Regions from separate parts of the Homo sapiens genome. Here region 1 is linked to region 2. The links are contacts of gene promoters, found by promoter capture Hi-C in blood cells and fetal thymus (Javierre and others, 2016). All regions are on one chromosome and are shown on one strand. Each heading gives the region's core, a stretch centred on a gene start or on the middle of the fragment in contact. The rest is flanking DNA. Distances are from core to core; before and after follow the strand shown. Region 1 overlaps ANKRD6 (ankyrin repeat domain 6). Region 2 holds the start of PM20D2 (peptidase M20 domain containing 2).

Region 1 (7,839 bases), core at 876-3,375, 460 kb after region 2:
TCTGCCTCCTGAGTTCAAGCGATTCTCCTGCCTCAGCCTCCTAAGTAGCTGGGCATGTGCCCCCACGCCCGGCTAATTTTTCCATTTTTAGTAGAGATGGGGTTTCACCATGTTGGCCAGGCTGGTCTTGAACTCCTGACCCCGTGATCTGCCCGCCTCAGCCTCCTAAGTATCTGGGCATGTGCCCCCACGCCTGGCTAATTTTTCTATTTTTAGTAGAGATGGGGTTTCACCATGTTGGCCAGGCTGGTCTTGAACTCCTGACCCCGTGATCTGCCCACCTCGGCCTCCCAAAGTGTTGGGATTACAGGCGTGAGCCACTGTGCCCATGCCAAGAGATATACTTTATCTCAAAAATAAAAAAGCGTTATCAGTACTCTGGAGATATTTGCAGTTGAGGTAAGAAGGGTCATAAAAGGGCTTACCCTCTTTTCTTTCCCTGGATGGCCAGATTGGGTCTGTAGCAGGGGCCTGAGAATTTCCCACAGTGCACTGCCACATCACAGAGTGGTAGCTTCAGCTAATAGTGGTAGGATAATGAATCAGGTGGGCTAGAATGGGGTTCTAGGTGGCAGTAGCCTGGGGACAATGGGCAGCAGTAAGTACCCTCCCTAATACACACACACACACTATATATATATATATATGTACAATTTCATGGCCAAGTCAAATCTGAAACCATAGTATCTCTAGCTTATGACACACAGACATCTGCATACAAGATCTTCAACAGCAATGCCAGGCAAATCAAGCTATAGAAATATACCCCATCAATGAAGTGACTTCTCCAGACCTTGCATGCTGCAGGAAATAGAAATGACAGCCTGAAACTCCTTTGTGAACGTAATCTCTGTGGGAGCAAGAGAACCCACCTCAGTGGCTTTGCCCTCCGGTGAAATCTCCTGGCTCTCACTACTTTTCCATTGGTTCATTAGAGAGCATAGTTAAGCAAGCCATGCCTTCGTCATTTTCATCCGTCTCCCCTCTCCAGTCCCTCATTACATCTTAGGACATCTTCAAGTCTCACACCTGTTCCTCTTTCCATGCTCATTCTTAAGCATGCCCTGGATTATTTCAGATGCCTCAAGCAGATTGGCAGGCTCAAATCTAGTCCCTCCTTTCATCCTGCTCTTCCTCTGCTCAGCGACCTTCTCATAAAGCTCCTGTCTGACACTGTCTATAAGCCTCTGCTGGCCCACCTCTGGAGTTCCTCCTGGCTCCTTTCCCCTAGAGCACCTCCTGTGCCCTCAGAGTGGGGCTCACTGGCCTGCTTCTCATTCCTGCCTATAGACCTCCAACCTGGCCCCAGGCCCTCTCCCTCCCCGAAGACCCACTGGGCTGCTTCTGCAACTCTCCCTTGGCACCGCATGCAGCTTTGTGCTGTCGTTTCCTAGTTCATATTTTTCATGGTTCCCTCATGGATCAAAAGCTTGAGGTCTGAGAGCAGCAAGCTACGTATGGTAATATCGCCGGTAGTGCCTGGCTCACAGCTCAGGAGGTGGGTGGCTGCCCATTTCTTCAAAATGCATATGGTCTGGAACAGGAGTTGATGGTGTGTAATCACTTTTTTTTTTCTTTTTGAGACAGAGTTTCACTCTTGTTGCCCAGGCTGGAGTGCAATGGCTCAATCTCGGCTCACTGCAACCTCCGCCTCCCGGGTTCAAGCGATTCTCCTGCCTCACCCTCCCGAGTAGCTGGGATTACAGGCACCTGCCATCACGCTCAGCTAATTTTTGTATTTTTAGTAGAGACAGCGTTTCACCATGTTGGCCAGACTGGTTTTGAAATCCTGACCTCAGGTGATCCACTCACCTTGGCCTCCCAAAGTGCTGGGATTACAGGAGTGAGCCACCGAACCCGGCCTGTAATCACCACGTTTTTTTGTTTGTTTGTTTGTTTTGAGACAGAGTCTCACTCTGTTGCCAGGCTGGAGCGCGATCTCGGCTTGCTGAAACCTCTGCCTCCCGGGTTCAAGCTATTACGCTGCCTCAGCCTCCTGAGTAGCTGAGACTACAGGCACACACCACCATGCCCAGCTAATTTTTGTATTTTTAGTAGAGACGAGGTTTCACCATGTTGGCTGGGATGGTCTTGATCTCTTGATCTTGTGATCCACCCACCTCGGCCTCCCAAGGTGATGGATTACAGGCGTGAACCACTGCACCCAGCCCAGAAATTGTTTCTGTGTAAATAAAATGGCTTCAGAAGGACAGGTCAGGAAACTCATGCGTCTCAAAGGGAGGGACATTTTGTACCAGCCATAGCCCGTAGAAAGATCCTTCTTATTCAGCAGATGTAGCAGCTCCTGTCTGGGAAATCAGTACCCACTACTCAGGGTGGGGAAAAACGCCTGCTACATATATATCTACCCTAGGTCACATTTTCTAATGTCAGGTTTTGAGATATAGGTATGAAGTCACGCTGTTCTGTGAGTTTTGACAAATGTATACGGTTGTGTAACCCCCACCATAAGATATAGAATGTTTCCATTGCCCCTTAATGTTCCTTTGCGCCCTCTGGTGGCAGGCCCCCAGTCACCCTCTCCCAGCCCCGGGCAACCACGGATCTGTTTTGCTTGTTCATAAAGGTCATGTAAATGGAATCATACAGTATGCGGCCTTCTGTGTGTGGCTTCTTAAACTTAGCATAATGTTTTTGAGATTCCTCCGTGTCGTTACATGGAGGAATGGTTCACGCCTCTTTATTGCTGAGGAGTATTCCATTGTGTGGATCTACCACAATTTGTTTATCCAAACCTATGGTTTTTAATTTTCTTGGTGCAAATGCTTTTCCACATCATCGATATTTCCTTATTGGCAATATAAGCTTTGGTATGATCTATTTCTAGAGGCATCAGATTTCTTTCATTTCACTCATGTATTCAACACGTATTTAGTGGTTGCCATGAAGCCCATAACTTGCAGACAACTTGAGAGTAGTGTTTTTAAAACCTGGGCAGACCCCTTGTTGCTGAGAACTAAACTAGCAGTGGTTCTCCACCTGGCTGCACATTAGACCCTCCTGGGGAACTATAAACAAACGAAAAAGGAAAAAAAACAAAACTTAAAAAAAAAAAAAACCTGAAGACCAGGCCTGGGGTGATGGACTGTCCCAGTTTGCCCTGGGCTAAAGGGTTTCCCGGAATGTGGGACTTTCAGTACTAAAATAGGGATGCTGGATACCCATCCCCAAGGCCACATAAATCAGAGTCCCTAGAACGGTTGTGGCTGTGCACAGGGCTGGTTTGAAAGCTTCCCCAGGTGATTCTAATGTGCACCCAAGGGTTGAGAACCAGCGAGCCTGCTAGAACCTCAGGCCTGTAATCCTCCCTGTGCCTGGAGGTAAAAGTGAGACAAAAGGTCCACCAGGGCTGGTTGGAGCTAAGGTGAAGAGAAGGGGGATAAGCAAACTGGCCGCATCCAGTATTCCTCTATTTTTTTTTTTTTTAACTCATTTCTCTTTTTAAAAGATCAGGAATCTGATATACTGGAGTATCGGCAGCCAGGACTGTGAGATCCAGAAGGGTGTGAACTAGGTGAGGGAGAAGCAATGAACAGGCAGTGTAATGCTCTGAGCCCACGCACCTGCAAGCCTGACCCAGCACTTGAGCTCAGCAGAACCAACGCGGAGCTTCTGTGTTTAACCTCCTGAGTGCTTGCAGGCTCTTGGATGACACAATGTCACCTATCACACGGCCTTGCTTTCTTGTTACTTTTCTAGGGGTTATCAGCGGCCTCACATGCCCTACTCCCATAGACTCAAAAGTTCTGTTCATGTCCTGCAATTTTTTCCTGCAGTATTGCTATGGACCTTATTCTGACCCTTGGTTGTCATTGTGATGTGGTTTGTTGAGGTTCTCAAAAACAAGAAGGACCCAAAAAGCAAGAGGGTCTCAATCTGTGTCCTAAGTGATAGATGCAACTGTACTGCCTGAAAGGCAGGGCCTGGTGTCCATAGTTAAAATTTTGATGTTTCAAGAAAAATACAAGAATGGGTGACTTGAAAAAGGCTAACAAGTTAAATCTCAGTTGCATTAGCCTGCCCTTCCAGGAAGTGGCTAGTTTTACTTTTTTTAGCCCACCATTGGCAGGGATTGTAACCACAGCTATTGCCCATGTGGGGCAGGAAGTCATCTGATAGGAATTGAGTACTGTGCATGTGTCCAGCATTGTGTGTTAAGAAAACACCTTCCTAGACACTCTGAGTCAATCCCCATAGTTTTAGGATGTGGGGGTCATGCTCCATTTCCCAGGTAAGGAATTTGAGCATTTGAAAAGGCTGGCTTTTAGTTAGTAAGTTGCAGAGCCAGGACTTGGAACCAAGGTTTTATGACAAATAGGACTCTTCTGCCTGTTCAGACTCCAAATTAAATGTTCTTACCTCTGAAGCATCCCCACTGAAACCATCGGGCAAGAGGCAGAGAATGTGAGCGTTGCCTTTTCCCCCGAGTAAGTACTGCCCCTCTGCAAGGCATGCAAGTCTGTGCGGAAGCATGTTGCTAATATGTCCTCCCTCTCTCTGCCTCTCTCCAAGGCGGGGAACACAGCTCTGCACCTGGCCTGCCAGAACAGCCACTCCCAGAGCACGCGCGTCCTCCTGCTGGCCGGGTCCCGCGCTGACCTCAAAAATAATGTGGGTGAACAAAACCAGATTCTCACGTTCTCTCTTTCTTGTGTCACTTCAGAAAATAACTTCATGAGCATACTTGAACCTTAACATCTAGAAATTAAAATGTAAAAAGTATTTGGGGACTATCTCTAAAGTGTTCTTTTTTTGGCAATTTTCTAAGGGATCATTCAGGCATGTGAGAAGAAGAATCAAAAGACTTGGAAATACTGCTTTTCTCCCATCATTTTCCCTTCATGCCTCATCTTTGGTTTATCATTTCTTACAGTACGTGTCTGGCCAATTACAGACTAGGAAACCAGTTAATGTTTTAAGAAAGTCTCTACCCACATAGAGTGTTGAGTGTTGTACTATTATCAGCAAATATGAGCTGGTGCCATTTACAGGGGAGGTCCTCTAATGCCCCATGCCCAGCATCTATAGCGAGCAGGTCCTACTGATGACTGAGGCGTCCTTGGGATGAGCTGACCGGAAAGGTCACATGGGTATCGCTTCTTCACAAAGAAGCTGTATTTCCTTTATAAATCCCCTGCCTTAGCCACGTTGGCTAAATAAATAAATAAATCTGAGGCTTCTTTCTAAAGTGTCCTCAGGTGAGGGTCTCCCTGTTTGGGGTAGACTCATCTAATGCTCTGAACCTCAGCTTTGAGCTTGGTTCCGTCTTAATGCAGGGGAGAAAAGTATGCCAAGTGGCCAGTGTTCTCCAGACAGAGCTAGGATGGAAATGGCAAGAAAACACTGCAGGCAGCTTTTTGTCTCCAGTTCTTTATTGTCTTTGTGGGAACAGGGTTCTGCCTGTTGTGCTTACTGAGCATCCTGCCCCTGAGTTTTTCTTCATACCCTTTTTTTGCTCCCAGTGATTGCTTCCTTATGAGCTCCCCTACTACATAGCTCCATATAGGATATTGGGGTCCAACTGAAGTGGGATACTCCTTGAACTTCAGGGGGTACGTGTAATCTTAAGATTTGACAACCCCCCTGCTGCCCTGTCCTTTCATCCATGAGGGATCTATGCTGGGAAGGGCTCATTTCCAAAGCAATGCTGTTGGTCTTAAGTCAGTATACTACTGACCTTTTGGGTTGTAGGGAGGCTAGGGTCCCTGGATCCTCCTCAAGCACAGGTAAGCAGAGCCTGCCTTAGCTCTTGGAAAGGTCTCATGGGGAGCAGACGTCTAGTTTCATAAACGTGGAAGCAGTGATTCTGTGACCACGTGGTTGTTCTGCACAGGCAGAAAGGGAGCAGGGCTGCCCACAGCAGCAAAGAATGGCGAGCCTTGGGGTGGAGCATCTATGTTAAAAGAGCTGCTTATGATTCCCTAAAGAGTACATGATAGTCTGCTAGCTTTTAAATAACATTTTCTTTCTACTTTTCTCTATTTGTTTTGTAACTGCTCAGATTGTGCTTAGAGTTTGATTTTTGTCCGCAGGCAGGAGACACCTGTTTGCACGTTGCTGCGCGCTATAATCACTTGTCCATCATTAGGCTCCTCCTCACTGCTTTCTGTTCTGTCCATGAAAAGAACCAGGTCAGTGCATGTATTCTCTTCATGGCTGCCAGCACCCTTCCCACAAGGCTACCGGACAGGTCTGTTAGTGCAAACGGGAGCAGAGGCTGCTGGGAAGCTGCCATGTCACCTACCTGGGACTCAGCCAGCAGTGGGCTTTGCATGGGTGTCACACTGAGTTCTAGTGGCCCTGGCTTATCTGGCCTGCTAGAGAAAGTGTGCCCTTATAATTCCTGTGCATATCACCACATTTGCATATTGAACATTTTCTGGAGATCCTGGGGCAGGCTTTGTTTTTTAAATGTGATTTTAAAAAGAAAACCCACGAGGAAGAATGTGATTTAGTAAAGAAGCAAGGGAGGCCGGGTGCAGTGGCTCACATCCCAGTACTTTGGGAAGCCAAGGCAGGAGGATCACTTGAGGCTAGGAGTTCAAGACCAGCCCGGGCAACATAGCGAGACCCTGTCTCTACAAAAAATTTTTTTAAAAATTTGGCCGGCCGTGGTGGCTCATGCCTGTAATTCCAGCACTTTGGGAGACTAAGGTGGGTGGATCACTTCGAGTTCAGGAGTTCAAGACCGGCCTGGCCAACATGGTGAAACCCTGTCTCTACCAAAAATACAAAAATTAGCCAGGCGTGGTGGCGTGCACCTGCAATCTCAGCTACTCAGGAAGCTGAGGCAGGAGAATTGCCTGAACCCAGGAGGCAGAGGTTGCAGTGAACCGAGATCATGCTACTGTACTACAACCTGGGCAACAGAGCAAGACTACATCTCAAAATAAATAAATAATAAGTTAATTAAATTTAAAAATTGGGCAGAGTGGCATGTGCCTGTAGTTCCAGCTACTCAGGAGGCTGAGGCAGGTGGATTGTTTGAGCCTAGGAGTTTGAAGCTGTGGTGAGTGAGCCATGATCTTGCCACTGCACACCAGTCTGGGCAACAGAATGAGACCCCGTCTCTTTAAAGGAAAAAAAAAAAAACAAAAAAAAAAACCCACCAAGCAAGCATAGGAATTAGAAGTCTTATAACTCCCTAAGTTCTGTTCCTTGCACTGCCACTTACTTACACTTGAGCTGATAGTCTTTCATTCCCATAAAATTGGGCATATAATCTGTAGAGAGTGCCATGCAATGGGGTTTTGAAATAAAGCTGTGAATATTACCGTCTTCCTTAGAAATGTGCACAATTTCCAGCAGTCATTGGATTTGAAAATTAGATTGTCTTGGTATTTATTGACACCTATGTGGTACATTGTTTCACTTTTCTTTGTTGGAGTGCATAAATCTTAACTAAAAAAAAAAAATTAGATTGTGGTGTAGATTAAAAATACCATGGAATGGTGGTTTCTGACCCTGGCTGCATATGAGAATCAACAGGGGAATTAAGAATACTGTTCCTGGATCCCACCCCAGTTGAAAGAGTCAGAACCTCTGGGGGTGAGGTCCAGGCAATGGTGTTTTTAAAAAGCTCTCTGTCTGAGTATACAGCCACTGACCTAATCAAGTAGCACGGCCTCCCCAGTGGGGTGCTAGATCATCAGGTGACCCCTGCATAGCCCCCACCAACCAGTGCCTTTCAACCTTGGCAGCGTGTCACGGCACTTGAGAGCTTTAAAAAGTCCCCCTGCCCAGCCCACATGGTAGACCAATGAATTCAGCATCTCTGAGAGTGGGACCCAGGCATCATCATTTTTTAAAGCTCTGAAG
Region 2 (7,213 bases), core at 2,220-4,719:
GTGAAATATCTGCACTCTCTCCTTGGATTAAATCATTTTTGCACTTTTTATTCCTTTCCCCCACAATTATTATTATTATTATTATTTTTTGAGACGGAGTCTCGCTCTGTCACCCAGGCTGGAGTGCAGTGACGCGATCTCGGCTCACTGCAAGCTCCACCTCCCGGGTTCACGCCATTCTCCTGCCTCAGCCTCCCGAATAGCTGGGACTACAGGTGCGTGCCACCACGCCCGGCTAATTTTTTGTATTTTTTAGTAGAGACGGGGTTTCACCATGTTAGCCAGGATGGTCTCCATCTCCTGACCTCGTGAACCACCCACCTCGGCCTCCCAGAGTGCTGGGATTACAGGTGTGCGCCACCGCGCCCGGCCCCCCACAATTATTTTTGTTTGTTTGCTTTTCATTCCTGAAATCCTGCACTGAAGCTCTCTGGTACTTCTATTTACTTTTTCTCTACCTTTAATTTTCTTCATTTTATTTTTCATTCCATTCCTTTTTCTGTTTTCAAAAACTTTTTTTTCTCATTTAGCTCATGCTTTGCCATGAGCTCATGCTTTGCCATGTTGGGGATTTTATTTTATTATTTCTATCTTAATTCAAAGAATATAAACCATACAAAAGCCTGCTGCCTTTTCAAAAGGAGTTCTGAATCTGAAGCCCAAAATAATACCCAGTATAGTTGTACAATTTGGCTGTATTTTAGTTGCTTTTCCAGGGTAAAGGAAATTTTTGATCTACTCTTTCCACCACAGCACTCATTTGTCATGAATGTCCTGTTCTCAAAGTTATTGAGTCAGTTGTGATGACAGCTGGTTTTCTAAGCAGCCAGGAAAGAAGAGGAATCTTTATATATTTTTTCCCCTTTTTTCTCATCAGGAGCCAAGAAAGAACATTTATATACTTTAAAACCAGTCCTCAAGAGAGAACTATCTGCACTCCTCTCACCCCCCCAAAAAGGTTATACATCTTAATACTAAATTCTGGATATTGTATTGTTTCCTCAGATCCAGCACCAGCTAAAGGAAGGGAGCTTGTATACATTTTTTTTTGTTTCTAATAAAAACATACAGGTTCCTTACCAGTAGCACATAGATAGGGTAGACAGTTGTATGAATATTATGGGTACAAATGAAAGTAATAGTAAGAATTTATGAGCTGACCAGATTCTAGAAAGCCACATGTCCAACTCCATCAGCTTCCAGAAGCAATTCTTCCTGCCCCCAGCTCCACATAAAGGACTGAGAAGTCTAGGAAGAAGCATAACAATGTCTATTGGTAGTCAGTGTCGTTTAATGGTTAATTGCTGCCATTATTCAGTTAGTTTATTAGATTCAAGAAGAATAATCAGCCAACAAATATTTATTAACACAGAGGAAATGCTGACCATAAGATGTTAGGTGCTGGGGAATGCAGTGGGAAAACAAAAGAGTTTAAAGCCTGGAGGGGAAGATAAACGGTCAGCAAGTTATCACAGTTTATCAAATAAATGAATTCAAGGGTGCAAAATACCATGAGCAAGAAATACAAGGTGTCAACAGTAGAAACTGAATACATACGTGCCTGTGGGCATGTATACCCACCCACCCACCCACATATATACACAAGGAACAGAGCTTGAAATGAATCTGTCTTTCCTCTACCTCAAGTGGCAGCTTTGTTAATTCCTGCAAAGCAATATAAATAGCAGCTTCTATATGAAATTATATGCATCCCTTTTCTGTTGCTGTTTATTGATGCCTGAGGAGGGCAAACATGGGTTCTACTGATGTCAGCAGGCAGAGTTGCTGCAGTAAAATTTATTCAAAATGAGTGTTGTGGGTTCTGATTTGAATAGATAAACTGGAGATGCATTTATGAATTTGCATGTCTGTTTACACAAGCAATAGACCATGGTGGCTGAAAGTCAGCCACTGGAGGCTGACTCTGGCTTCTGTTCTACAGTGGGTCCACTACTTACTAGCTCTATAATCTTGGACATACATCTGTAAAATGAAGATAAATAACCACATTAACCACCTCATAGTTTGCTGTGAGGATTAAATGAGTTAACAAATGCTAAGCCCTTGGAACAGTGCCTAGCACAGAGTAATTGCTCTACAAATGTCACCTATTGCTTTTGCTCTCCAATCCCCCCTTCTCCCCTTTTTTTAGCCAACTAACTGAGCAGGATAATATTGGATCTCGTGGATACAGGGTAATTTTCTTCAGCAGAATACCAGAGAAAGATTTATTATCGCCAAGGGGGCCCAGGAATTTAATAACACATTTGTTGTTTTTAGAGCTGAGTTTTTGTTGGAGTGTTAACTGAGAAAGAAAGTTTTCAGACGTGAATGGAATGTGACATTTACTCTGGTATTATTAGCATATAGAGTAGTAAAAACAGTAGTTGATAGTCTTCGTGCATGTTAGCTTCCCTTAGACTTATTTTCAAAATATTCATTTGGTTTATCACATTAATATATTGTGTCCCATTTAACATAGTTGAGACAAATTAAGGAAAGATGATAGGGTATGAAGAGCTGATAGAAGCTTTTAATATGTGGAAAACCTCAGAATATAAACATCTACAGTGTTATTAATAGGCATACCGTCAACAACAGTTTTTCAGACTTTGTGGTTCACTCTGGAGAAAAACAAGAGCATGACATCTTGAATTTCTTCACTGGGTAATTAAAAAACTCAGTTATAATGTAACACCAGCTGCACATATCATGTTAGTGGAGTTCAGCATCAATTAAAATTATAAACGAAACCTGTCATATGTTCCCTTTCAAAGCTGTTCAAGACAACTGTCCAAATCAACAAAACAGTATGAATATTTACTACCATAAATCTTTTAACTCTTTGGTTTTAACTCATTTCAAATTTTTAGTTCTACTCTATTCAAATAAATTATTATATAATAGCTAATACATACCAAGAGCTTACTGCATAATCTAGCTGCTGTTCCAGACATTAGTAACCAATGAGAAAACTGTAGAGAGTAGCTGCAGCTTTTAGTAATACAATGTCAAGGAGAAGAAAGTGGGGGCAGTACCGAAACTTACGTACAGTACCGTCGTTAGTACAGCATTGACACTGACGGCCTCCTTCAGGAAATACAAACCTTGTGAGGTTTTAATTACTAATGCTACAGAGTGGCGTTTTTCCGAGGACTGTGTTCCACTTGGTCTGTCTCTGATGGCTATTAACTAATAACCGTTCTCATTCTGCTGCTGTGGGAAATAAGCAACAACGGAAAAGTAATCGATAATCTTAGAGCATAACTCAAAGGCCAGAGCAGCCAAGGAGGTGGAAGAGTCCCGAGCCCTGCCTTCTCCACAGCACCCCCAAAACCCCACGGCGGGGCAGAGCGCCTGGTAGGGTACGAGCGGCCGCCAGCGTTTCCCGCGCGGCGCCGGGGGCGGCCCCGGGACTGGGGGTGGTGCCCTGGGAGCTGTGTGGCCGCGTGCGCGCTCCGCCGGGGTCCTGGAGGCCTCTGGGCGCGTGCGCGGGCGGTCGCTACCTGCGGCCGAGCCAGGGAGCGAGAGGGCGCAGAGGGCAGCGGGCTTGGGCAGCATGAGGCCCGGAGGGGAGCGGCCCGTGGAAGGGGGCGCGTGCAATGGCCGCTCCGAGCTGGAGCTACTGAAGCTGCGCTCGGCGGAGTGCATCGACGAGGCGGCCGAGCGGCTGGGGGCCCTGAGCCGCGCGATCTGGAGCCAGCCCGAGCTGGCCTACGAGGAGCACCATGCCCACCGCGTGCTGACGCACTTCTTCGAGCGGGAGCCGCCCGCGGCCTCCTGGGCAGTGCAGCCGCACTACCAGCTGCCCACGGCCTTCCGCGCCGAGTGGGAGCCGCCGGAGGCCCGGGCACCGAGCGCCACGCCACGCCCGCTGCACCTGGGCTTCCTCTGCGAGTACGACGCGCTGCCCGGCATCGGCCACGCCTGCGGCCACAACCTCATCGCTGAGGTCGGGGCGGCGGCCGCGCTGGGCGTGAGGGGGGCCTTAGAGGGCCTCCCCAGGCCGCCTCCGCCCGTGAAGGTGAGGTGGGGCCCGGGTGCGGGACCCTATCCGACTGCCCGGGTCGGGGGCGACCCGGGAAGGGCGGGACTCTCGTGCGTCCCGCGCGCCTCGGTGCCCTCCCGCCCGGGGCAGGTGTGTGTGGGACCGCGCTAAACCTGCGGTCCTCGCCTCGGCGCAGGAGCAGAGCTGAACCCCCAGTCAAAGTCAGTTCGCGTTGCCGACCTGGCGACATCTTGCAGATTATTGTTTCCTCCTCTCTAGTTATAAACAGCTCTGCTGAGTTGTTCCCTTAGGAAAGAACTTACACCCAAGCCTGGTGTTTGTTACGGGTTATTTTTGGTAACTGAGAGAGGCAACAGCAATTTGCTGACAAGGTTGTGCCATCAATCTCAGGAGGAAATAACTTCTTGTAGGTAATCCTACGGCCCCTTTTTATTCGTCTCCAAATAAATCTTTTGTTTGTGGCAGTCCTAGAAAATGTGATTCAAGTCATTGGTATTTGGATAGGAATTTTCAGTCGCTAGAACCACCAGACCCCTAGAAGTATACAAATAAAGGGGAAGTGAATGAGCATTATACATAGATGAGTTCATCCTTAAGTCTTAATTTTTTTGTTTTATGATTTTAAGAAATACCTCGACTCTTTAAACAGGGAAATGTCGTTTATGTTTGTCGTAGGGCAAGTTTAATCCTGTTTTACTCTGCTTTTCCAGATGGTATATTCTACACTATGAGCTAAGATTCAATCGTCATTCAGTTAAGGGGAAAACAAATGTTTTATTTTCATACTCTTTAGTTCATTTCCCCCAGTGTCAGTAACCTTCCTCTTTTATCCTAACACTACATCTTTTGTGGCTTTTTCACTTTAGCTGCCTTCTTTTTTCTGTCTCTGGAGGCTCGTTTTTGCATTTGTTAGGTTTTTGTTTGGGTTGGGGGAAGCATGCTTTGCCATGTCACAAACACTGGAGAGATTTCGCTTCAACCACGTTTTTAAAGGTTCTGAGTAGTCAGCGAGAGACATATCGTATTTAATGAGTTAAGGGTCAAGAATGAAGAGCGGTGGGCAGATCAGTTGAGGTCTGGAGTTCGAGACCCGCCTGGCCAACATGGTGAAACCTCTGTCTCTACTAAAATATATTAAAAAAAAAAAAATTAGCTGGGCGTGGTGGCTCACGCCTGTAATCCCAGCTACTCGGGAGGCTGAGGCAGGAGAATCGCTTGAACCCAGGAGGCAGAGGTTGCAGTGAGCCGACATCGCGCCACTGCACTCCATCCTGGGCAACAGAGCGAGGCCTCCTCTTAAAAAAAAAAAGAGCGGCGGCTTCATGTCAGAGTTTGAGCACTGTAGAACCGCCAAAAAAAAGCTAAACTTTGAGAAATGTACACTCTTTTTTTTTTTTTTTTTTTTTTGAGACAGTCTCATTCTGTCGCCCAGGCCGAGTGCAGTGGTCCTATCTCGGCTCACTACAACCTCCGCCTCCCGGGTTCAGGCGATCCTCGTGCTTCAGCCTCCTGAGCTGGGATTACAGGTGTGTGCCACCACGCCCAGCTAATTTTTGCATTTTTTAGTAGAGACAGGATTTCGCCATGTTGGCCTGGCTGGTATCGAACTCCGGATCTCGGGTGATTCGCCCACCTCGGCCTCCCACAGTGCTAGGATTACAGGCATGAGTCACCGCTCCCGGCCCACTCTTCTAACTTCAAATGGTTGTTCTCAATTTTAGCAAGGTTAAGTTATTAATTATCTGAAAATGGAATTTAAGTTGATTTCCTTTGCAAGCCAAGACTTTTCCAGCTTGTTTCATTGTGTTCTTATACATGATCTTGAAAATATATTAGTTGTTTATTTTGATTTTTAAAATTGTTTGAAGCAGTTAAGCTTAAATATCAAAGTAAAATGTTTATTCTGTAAAGTTCTCTTTTGTTTAATTAGGTGTTTGGTGACCAATAAATCTGCCTGGTTGAACTGGTGGAATCGAATTAGTAAGTTTGTGTAATAGTTGGCTGTTTCTAACTGTGGCATTAAGACTTGTTTAATGTTCTTCATAAAGGATTAATGAGTTCAGACTTTTAAAATAGGTAGCCCAGTAAGGAATCAGAGTTTAGGCCAGAAGATCAGGACATCTAATCCTAATTCTGCCTGAAGACTTGCTCTGTGACCTGGGGCAAGACACTTCACTCAATTCCTCAAAAACACCCCCTGTAAAATGATGATAGAGATCACCCACCTACCTCACAGGGTTGTTGTGAGGATAAGTAGTAAGTTAACAGAAAGTTTCTGACTCGTAAAGTACTTAAGAATAATTATATACATACATACACTGAAAGGCTTAGTCGAGAGGAACCTTTTTGAAACAAATCCTAACAAATTTTGAGGGACTAAACTTGTAGTATTTTTTTTTATCTTTGCCATTAGTTGACTTGTAAAATTGGGAAAAGCTTTTTATAGTGTCTTTAGTACATACTTTGCACCAAGTTGGTATAACAATGTACATTTTGTGATTAATTTAGCACCATTTGTTGATGCCCATTGCGTAAGCGTCATAGAACAAAACCTGTCTTAATAGGTTAAGGACTTTAATGTAGATTGTGAATACATATGCAGGTGAACCTGTTTGATATATTCCTATGAGGATTTTGTTGTTTTTCCCTGACATGAGTATTTCCTTCTAGGTAGTTGTCCTGGGAACCCCTGCAGAAGAAGATGGTGGTGGCAAAATTGATTTAATTGAAGCAGGGGCTTTTACAAATCTTGATGTTGTTTTTATGGCCCACCCATCACAAGAGAATGCTGCTTATCTACCAGATATGGCTGAACATGAGTGAGTAATCAAGTTGAAGATAAACTTCTTAGGGGAACACAGGCTATAGAATACTTTTATGTCTAAACCAGAGACGAAAACTCCACATTTGTATATTTAAGAAGTAAATTGAAAGACAATAACAAGATGTCTTGATCTATGGAGTGACATTTGGCAAGCCTCTTCTAATTGAGATTCATTATGGTGTTCATAATTGGAGTATTAAAATAGTAGCACTTAGAAACCATAGGAATAACAAACATGTTGACAATTAAGTTCTCTTTTGAACTGTCAATAATCTGGTGTCTGGAAAACATCTGTCCTTTCATATGAAATTGTCTTTGCAACTGAATAGATTTGCGAGAGATCGTTCTATTAGCTATGGGAAGAAACCACACTTATCCAT

The links. Contacts are between HindIII fragments. The CHiCAGO score rates a contact against its expected background, and 5 or more counts as called.
Region 1: a contact is called between a fragment that was not itself captured here and the fragment with the promoter of PM20D2 in region 2, in 2 of 17 cell types (fetal thymus and naive B cells). The highest score is 8.5, in fetal thymus.

What each region holds. Positions count from the first base shown.
Region 1 is chr6:89,607,739-89,615,577 of GRCh38, forward strand. It overlaps ANKRD6 (ankyrin repeat domain 6), which reads left to right. Exons shown (of 16, transcript NM_001242809.2): 6 at 4,534-4,632; 7 at 6,054-6,152. The region is part of intron 1 of LOC124901359 (a long non-coding RNA gene); the gene reads right to left. Among named protein-coding and RNA genes, the nearest start is that of MDN1-AS1, 27 kb to the right of the region's middle. RefSeq lists a silencer at 1,644-1,843. The HindIII fragment of the contact is 1,397 bases long and covers 1,428-2,824 here.
Region 2 is chr6:89,142,586-89,149,798 of GRCh38, forward strand. It overlaps PM20D2 (peptidase M20 domain containing 2), which reads left to right and starts at 3,470. Exons shown (of 7, transcript NM_001010853.3): 1 at 3,470-4,024; 2 at 6,680-6,828. The coding sequence starts at 3,560. LOC101929004 (a long non-coding RNA gene) reads right to left here and starts at 4,281. Exons shown (of 4, transcript XR_942766.4): 1 at 3,108-4,281; 2 at 1,162-1,248. RefSeq lists a silencer at 3,287-4,216. The HindIII fragment of the contact is 3,355 bases long and covers 2,529-5,883 here.